Linked DNA regions of Homo sapiens: regions 1 and 3 are each linked to region 2. The links are contacts of gene promoters, found by promoter capture Hi-C in blood cells and fetal thymus (Javierre and others, 2016). All regions are on one chromosome and are shown on one strand. Each heading gives the region's core, a stretch centred on a gene start or on the middle of the fragment in contact. The rest is flanking DNA. Distances are from core to core; before and after follow the strand shown.

What was found. The method cuts DNA at HindIII sites, captures the fragments that hold promoters and counts their contacts. A CHiCAGO score of 5 or more calls a contact.
Region 1: a fragment that was not itself captured here is called in contact with the fragment with the promoter of GOLT1A in region 2 in 4 of 17 cell types (M0 macrophages, megakaryocytes, M2 macrophages and 1 more); the score reaches 6.7 in M0 macrophages.
Region 3: a contact is called between a fragment that was not itself captured here and the fragment with the promoter of GOLT1A in region 2, in 2 of 17 cell types (megakaryocytes and M2 macrophages). The highest score is 7.9, in megakaryocytes.

The regions. Positions count from the first base shown.
Region 1 is chr1:204,389,087-204,391,901 of GRCh38, reverse strand. No RefSeq gene overlaps it. Among named protein-coding and RNA genes, the nearest start is that of LINC00628, 21 kb to the right of the region's middle. The HindIII fragment of the contact is 8,300 bases long and covers 1-2,815 here.
Region 2 is chr1:204,212,570-204,215,269 of GRCh38, reverse strand. It overlaps GOLT1A (golgi transport 1A), which reads left to right and starts at 1,282. Exons shown (of 5, transcript NM_198447.2): 1 at 1,282-1,388. The coding sequence starts at 1,364. RefSeq lists an enhancer at 755-1,411. The HindIII fragment of the contact is 7,307 bases long and covers 913-2,700 here.
Region 3 is chr1:204,405,115-204,407,814 of GRCh38, reverse strand. It overlaps PPP1R15B (protein phosphatase 1 regulatory subunit 15B), which reads left to right. Exons shown (of 2, transcript NM_032833.5): 2 at 1,502-2,700. The coding sequence ends at 1,723. Among named protein-coding and RNA genes, the nearest start is that of PPP1R15B, 5.4 kb to the left of the region's middle. The HindIII fragment of the contact is 5,303 bases long and covers 1-2,700 here.

The DNA.
Region 1 (2,815 bases), core at 198-2,697, 180 kb before region 2:
CTCATCATAGTCACAGTATACCTTTAAATAATATACCACTTCATGTATATTACCTCACTTGTGTGTGTGTGTGTGTGTGTGTGTGTGTGTGCACCTAACAACAGTATGCTTCCATTTCCTTCCTCCTGTCCCTTGTGCTGCTGTTGTGGTACCTTTTTTCTTATACAAAAGTTATAAACCTACAATATGTTGCTATTGTTTTTGCTTTAAAGAGTTCATCATCTTTTAAAGAGATTGAGAATTAGAAAACATCTTTATTTACCACTTGTTTACCATTTCTGCTGCTTTGTGTAGATCCAGTTTTCTATTAGATATTATTTTCCATCTGCCTGAAGAGCTTCTTGAACATTTCTTGTCATGTAACCTTGCTGCTGATGATTTATCTCAGATTTTGTCTGAAAAAGTCTTTACTTCTTCCCTCACTTTAGAAAAATATTTTTATTAGCTTTAGAATTCTAGGTTGATGGTTTTTCTTTCAGTACTTTAAGAACTGGGTGAGATAATGGAGTGACTTTTTTTAAGACAGGGTCTCCCTCTGTCACCCAGGCTGGAGGGCATTAGCACCATCATGGCTTACTACAACCTTGAACTCCTGGGCTCAAGCCGTCCTCCTGCCTCGTGTCCCTCCCAAAGTGCTAGGATTATAGGTGTGAGCCAGAGCACCTGGCCAAGTGACTTCTTTAAACTCTTCAAGTCCCTGATTTTGTGCTAGGCTCCTTAAAGTTAAGATGTTAGATGTAACACCTGTCTTCTCAAGTTAACTGTTTTGTTACCTTTTCTCAGTAACAAAGTCTGATATTGCTCTTGGGCTCACACCCATGTTTCCTGTCATTTTTTTTCCCTTGTCGGGTTACATATTGGCCTGTCAACTGCCTTTGACTCTGAGCCTAATATTACTTCCTCATGCTCCTGTGTTTCTCTATGCTCCTTACCAGCACACACATTCTCTTTTACGGTCTCCACCTGAGAGTAAGTTTGAGAGATTAGACCTCTCTGCTTCTTTCCTAGTGCTCTTTCCAGTGCTGTAAAGAGAACCTGGGCATTGGTCCAGACAGATTTGAGGTTGAATTCCAGCTTTCCATTTCCACCAGCTGTGTGCCCATAAGTAAATTATTTGAGTCTTAAGAGGCCATCTGTAAAATTTGAATAATAATATCTCTCAAAGTAGTTGGGAGGATTAAAGTAGGTAATATATGACAAGTTCTTACACCATATTTGTCTCATAATATCAAATACTCACATAGTATATATTATGATATATATCCCGATTTACAGATGAGGGACCTGAAGCATAGTAACCCACCCGAGTTACGTAACTAGGGAATGGCAGAGAACTAGGAGTGAAACCCAGTCTGGCTCCAGATCCCATGCCTCTAACTACAATGCTTCACTCCTTTTCTAGGTAAATGTTAATTCCTTCTTTTTGGATTAGATAGGGTTGGACTCTAACAAATGAGTACTCTTGACTGGGTGGATGTTGAGGGAATGGGGCAGTTAAAGGGTAGCAAGGCAAAGGATATTTCAAGTAGGAAAAATAGCTTTGGAGAAAAGGTAGAAATGGAAGGATATGGGAAACATGCTGGGGAAATGGCTAATAGGCTGATAAGTTTGGGTGGAGGTCCTGGGGGATAGAGAAGAATAGTGGGGGATAAAGTTCGTTATGTAGGGTCTAAATGATAGAGTACTTTGAATGCCATGCTAACAAAGTTGGTCTGTTTTATTCTACATAAAGTGACAAACCATTATGGGAGTGACATGGTCAGATGGGTTCTTTTGGAATAGCTCTTGGATCATTTGTGGATGGATTGAACTGAGGAGCAATTATAATAGATCAAGTAGGATGCTCTTGTTCAAATATAGGCCTGAGGTAATGAGCTCAACCAAAGGGATGGTTAGAGTGGAAAGGGGGAGCCATGGAGGTGTAATAGTTGGCAGGATTCAGTGGCTTGTTAGATGAAGGAGAAGGAGAAATCACAAAGGAGTCAGCTTTACTAGGCTTGGTGACAAGGAGGAAGGTGATGTTTTCATTGAGATAGGAAATTCTGAAAGGGGAGCAGCTTGGTGGAGGGAGATGTAAGAGTTCTGTTTCACATGAATAATTGGCCATTTGTAACACCTTATTCCCCTTTCTCATTTGTGGGAAGCAGTGAGATAGACCACCTAAGGGAAATTTTGTAGGACAGTCCTAAGGGAGGAGGAAAAGAAGAGAAGGGCTTAGGTAAAGACAGGTGGGATTCACAGACCAGAGGCATGTTCAAAGCAATTTCAGAGATGAAAATGGCATGGAGTTTTTGGGAGGTCCTGTGAGTAGACTGGATCGAAAGTTTGCTCCCACAAAACCCCTCAACCTCTCTTATCTATCCTTTTTCCCCAAGTCCTAGGTTGGCCAAGAAGCAGCCAATCCTGGCCGGGCGTGGTGGCTCACGCCTGTAATCCCAGCATTTTGGGAGGCCGAGGCGGGCGAATCAGGAGATCAGGAGTTCAAGACCAGCCTGACCAATATGGTGAAACTCCATCTCTGCTAAAAATACAAAAACTAGCTGGGTGTGGTGGTGTGTGCCTGTAATCCCAGCTACTCAGGAGGCCGAGGCAGGAGAATCGCTTGAACCTGGGAGGCAGGGGTTGCAGTGAGCCGAAATTGCACCACTGCACTCCAGCTCCAGCCTGGGCAACAGCCAGATTCTGTCTCAAAAAAAAAAAAAAAAAAAAAAAAAAAAAAGAAGCAGCCAATCCTTCAAGGAATGACAGAGGCTAAAGCCAGGTGCATATGGAGCTGAAGATTAAAGGGCCCTTCCTGGATCTTTTGGACTCCTCG
Region 2 (2,700 bases), core at 33-2,532:
TCTTCTGGTAAGTCTTGCCTGAACATTTATATATTGAAAGACATCATGTTTTATTATAATTTATCTTTTTGTTTCTTTTTAAAAAATTATGTTAGCTTTCCTTGGTTTTGTTGTTGTTGTTTGGTTTGTTTTTTTTTGAGACAGGATCTCGCTCTGCTACCCAGGCTGGAGTGCATGGCTTGATCACAGCTCATCGCAGCCTCGACCTTCTGGGCTCAAGCAATCCTCCTACCTTAGCCTCCCCAGTAGCTGGGACTACAGGCAGGTACCACCACATCCGGCTAATTTTTTATTTTTATTATTGTAGAGACAAGGTCTCACTATGTTGCTCAGGCTGGTCTCAAACTCCTGGGCTCAAGCAATCCTCCTGCCTTGGCCTCCCAAAATGCTGGGATTACAGACATAATGCATTTTGTATGCCAGGCCTATTTGCATTTTTAAATGATGTATATAGGTAGTCTTTGAAATTCATTTCTTCATTTCTGGACACAGAAGACATTGCAAAGTGGATGTTGGCTCTCCTGGCATCAATGCCACGTCAGAACCACTGCTCTGCGATGGGAAAAAAGGATGTTAGGAACTAACTGCCTCTCTTTTTGCAGGCCCAAAGGACGAATCCATGTCTACACAGCTGGTGGGTAGACTAGAACCAGGCCTCCTAAATTGTGCAGTCCTGCCCCAACCCCAAATTCAGGGCTTTGTCTTCCATAGCTCAACATCACAGTCAGTCCAAAGCTTGGACGCCGCTTGGGGAAAGGAGGTCGAAGACCTTCACGTCTAACTTCCCCCATGGCGCTTTTGCCATTGATTTAACCCGATCTGGCTCTGCCATTAGGTCAACAACAGGCTTTGTGCTCAGTCGCTCATCGCCTCCCAGCGCCTAGCATGTGCAATAGCAGAGAGCAAAAAGCTTGACTTTCAAGATGAATTTAGTACATTCCCAAAGGGATGCGCAGATGCCAACTCTTCCCACACTATCAAACCAAGCAAGAAACTTGAGCACCCCCTAGATTCCAATGCTTCCACATACAATCTAAGTTTCGCGGAGCAGACGAGAGCCGCAGAACACCGCGAGGTGCGAGGAAAGGGTCAGGTGGGCGGTGCCTTCCCCGGGCAGGCGCGGCAGGTGGAGGGGCGGGGCATTGCCCTACCGGAAAACGGGAGGAGGGAGCTGGCGAGTAGAAGCACCTGCGTGGTGTGCGGGGGTGGAGCGGGGGCTGGAGGGAGAGTTAATGATTTGCCACAGGCTCATTTCGCAACTTAACCAAGGGTCAGCTTCCCGTGACCATGTACCAGCTGCGTCCTCTGGGCCACGCTCCACTTGCCCGCTTCCACCCGGAAAGCCCCCCAGGCTGAGTGCGGCATGATCTCCATCACCGAATGGCAGAGTAAGTGGGATGAGCGGGGCTGCAATGGGCTATCCAGGCCAGGCTCCCTGCCGGCTGGCTCTCTCTCCCAGCTGGGCTCTCTGTCACTACAAGCGTGACCTCTGGAGCCAGGGGCTGGGAGATGCTGTGCTGGCACCCTGGGGCAGCAGGCAGGGTGGGGTGTGGCTCCCTACCCTCCAGCGGGTGGGAGTTGCTCAGGGCCCACAGGTAGCTAGAGGCTGGTGCCCAGGGGGCCTGGCAGGTTCCCCATTCACACTGACCCCTTTCCCATCCCGGGTTCTTAGAACTGGGTTGCCACAAAGGTGGACTCAGGAGGCCTCTGCCCATTCAGACATCTTTCCCCACACCATCAAGGTCTCCTGTGGCCCTGGGGGCTTCTTATAAAAAACTAAACTCCACTCCCCTGACCAAACCACCATACCCTCACTCCTAAACATCCTTCCCCTTCTTTTGGGGGAAGAGGTAGGGAGGAGGTCTTGGAACAAGTCTGGGGCCATGGGAAGAACCGTGGCTCTGTGGGCTTCATTTGGGTGAGTTACTTAAAGCCTCTGAGCCTTGGTTTTTCATCTGAGAATTGGTGACAACATTCTTTTGTTCACTCAACAGATTTGTCTCTGCTGTGTGCCAAGCACTGTGTTGGATATAGAGTGTCCAACATTAAATGAAACTGACTCCCTGCTTACATTCTAGAGAGGGGAGACAGGTAATTAACAGAAAGAAGTATATAGTATATCAGAAGATGATAAGTCCTCCAGATGAAAATAAAACAAGAGGAGGCTATGGAGTTCGAGGTAGGAGGGGTCGCTATTTTATATAGAGTGGTCAGGGAAGCCTCACTGAGAAGGTGAGCCTTTATTCAGATCTTTTTTCAGAGATCTATAGGAAGTGAGGAAGCAAAGCCACGCAGCTCTCTGGAGGGGAAATGTTCAGGAAGCAGGGACAGGCAGTGCAAAGGCCCTGAGGCATTAGCATACTTGGTGTGTTTGAAGAACAACAAGGAGGTGGGTATACCTGGAGCAAAGTGAGGTGAGGGGAGAATCATAGGAGTTTAGGTCAGGGATGTCACTGAGGGGTCAGGACACTGGAGACTTATAGACCATGGTAATGACCTTGGTTTTGTGCTATGGTGTGATATGTTCTATTTCTATGTTTAAAAGATCATTCTGGGTGCTGGGTTGAGAATAGACTGTGGAGGTATGAAGGCAGCAGCAGGGAAGCCAGTTCTTTTTTTTTTTTTTTTTTTTTGAGACAGAGTCTCACTCTGTCGCTCAGGTTGGAGTACAGTGGCATGATCTCTGCTCACTGCAACCTC
Region 3 (2,700 bases), core at 14-2,513, 190 kb before region 2:
TGAGTCTAAAAAACCCTTCTACCTCTGTTTTCTTATCGGTATAATGGGGATGATAATAGTCCATACCTCATAGGGTTAATGTGAGGATTAGATGAGATAAAAATGTAAAGCTCTTTAAAAAAAGCCTGGTATATGGTAAACACTGTACGTTTTTATTATTTATCTTAATGACACAATGAATGAGTAGTATTCAAGACTAGAATGCAATAACTAGTAAGGTGTTACATACCTGCTAATTGTCCTCAGGGGCATCCCTTGGCTTGATGTAAAGGGAACGAAAGTAGTAGGCCACATTGGGGTTAGCTGATGTAACTATTAAACATACTTGAAAGCAAGTATTTACTTTTGGAGTTTGATATCTTAGAAAGAAACTTCATTAGAAATTAAGTAGTGATTAGTAATGAGTAGGGATTGTCACTCATTACATGTCATTATGTATATTAGAATCACAATTTCATATATAGTGATAGCATATTGAATACAAAGGTTTTTAAAATCTTAACTACAAAGTTTCTTAGAGTAACACAGCTTTAAAAATACTAATTTTGCTATACTTTGTTTACTAAGTAACTTTTTCTCTTCTGTATTGTTATTGCCAAAGTAATGATACAAAAATAGTACAACATGTTGATTTAAAAGTTGGAAAGTGAAAAAAATTTTTAAAAGGAAAAAGAATAGAAGTAAGCAAAAATATTGTTAAAGCCTTTATGCAGTGATAAAAACAGTGACTTCCAGGGATATAGTGGTTATTTTCAGAAATATTTTGCTTGTCATTTTGAGGGAAAAATATCACAGAACTGTATTTCCCTAAGGATTAAAAAATAGCAGGGGTTAATAACAGCATGAAAAATTCAATTCCCTATCTGGATTCATTTTATTAACACCAAAAGCCAAGGGCTGGTGGGGGATTGGGGGGGGCAGACGACTGTGTGTGTATATTATGCAGATATAGATAAATGAAGTATATATAGATGAAAGATATATATCTCTATATGAAATATTTAGGTGACATTTGTTCACTATTTTATCCAAATGCCATCTAATCTGAACTTTTTTTTTTTTGAGACAGAGTTTTGCTCTTGTTGCACAGGCTAGAGTGTAGTGGCGCGATATTGGCTCACTGCAACCTCCACCTCCCAGGTTCAAACTGTTCTCCTACCTCAGCCTCCTGCGTAGCTGGGATTACAGGCATGTGCCACCACGCCTGGCTAATTTTTTCGTATTTTTACTAGAGACAGGGTTTCACTGTGTTGGTCAGGCTGGTCTTGAACTCCTGACCTCAGGTGATCCGCCTGCTTCCGCCTCCCAAAATGCTGGGATTACAGGCGTGACAGAACTTTTTTTTTAACTTCAAATATAGCTGGGACCAAATATTCCTAATAATAATATGTTATTCTTAGTTGGGAATATTCTGAAAGAATTGGTAGCATAAAGGGTTATTGACCTCAATGCTGATTGTAAGATCCTAGACAGTTATTAAAATTAGTCTTTGTTTTTGTAGGTAACCTTCCTTGAAGAAGTTACTGAGTATTATATAAGTGGTGATGAGGATCGCAAAGGACCATGGGAAGAATTTGCAAGGGATGGATGCAGGTTCCAGAAACGAATTCAAGAAACAGAAGATGCTATTGGATATTGCTTGACATTTGAACACAGAGAAAGAATGTTTAATAGACTCCAGGGAACATGCTTCAAAGGACTTAATGTTCTCAAGCAATGTTGAGTTGGCAGCCTGTAGTCCTAGCTAGCATACACTACCTCTTACCTGAGAGGTGTCTTTTAAAAACAAATCTTGGCAGCTGTCCTTTGACATTTTTTTTTTTAGAGGAAATGTAACTTGGATCTAGTTTAATTTTTTTTTTTGCAACATATCCCACTCAGAAACATTCAGGTTTGAAGCCAGCCCTGATAATGAAGGATGAACTAGTGTGATTTCTAATCCTCCCTTTTTTGATTTAGTTGGATGTGCTTTTAAATGTCCTTTGCCTGCATGAGGTGGAAAGGGGACCTTTTTGAGTTGTCATTTTGCACTTTCAAAACTTATTTTCTTGGAAAACAATATTTATAGGGCTTAAAGCCCATTTTCATTTCTAATCTAAATTATGTGTGCCTATCTGAAAACTTTGGGCTCTTTCTTGTTTCTTTCCCAAAATTCAGAAGTTAATGGGCTTTTATGTTTTTCTATATTTTTTTTATTTCAATGATTTGGCCTGTCTATGTTAGGCTAAAAAATAACCTTGTGTATGCTACCAACTTAAAGTGCATTATTTTGTGTCACTTTTTTTTTTCTTGTAAAAATGACTTGGATTGAAAATATGTGGTAGCCTTTTTATTTCTACATTAAGTTCTACCTAGGATATTTCCAAGGACTGCCACAAAACCCATATGTGCAGTACTTTACTACTTTGGGAAAGCTGCATCTTTCTACCACATTTTAACATCTAATATATTTAATTTCTTTGAAGAGGGTTCTGTGTACGTTATTGTAGTTCCCAGTTTAATATAGTTCTTTGTATCTCTTAACAGGTTGAAGTTATTGCAAAACACTCTGGAAAGTAATAATTACATCATAATCATTTATTTTTTAAACTTAAAAGCCTAGAAATTTCCTAGAAAGAAAATAGGAGACATCTCAGAGCAATTTGGTTTTGGTGTATATGTTCTCAACAGAAAACCAGTGTTAATGAATATCATGCCTCA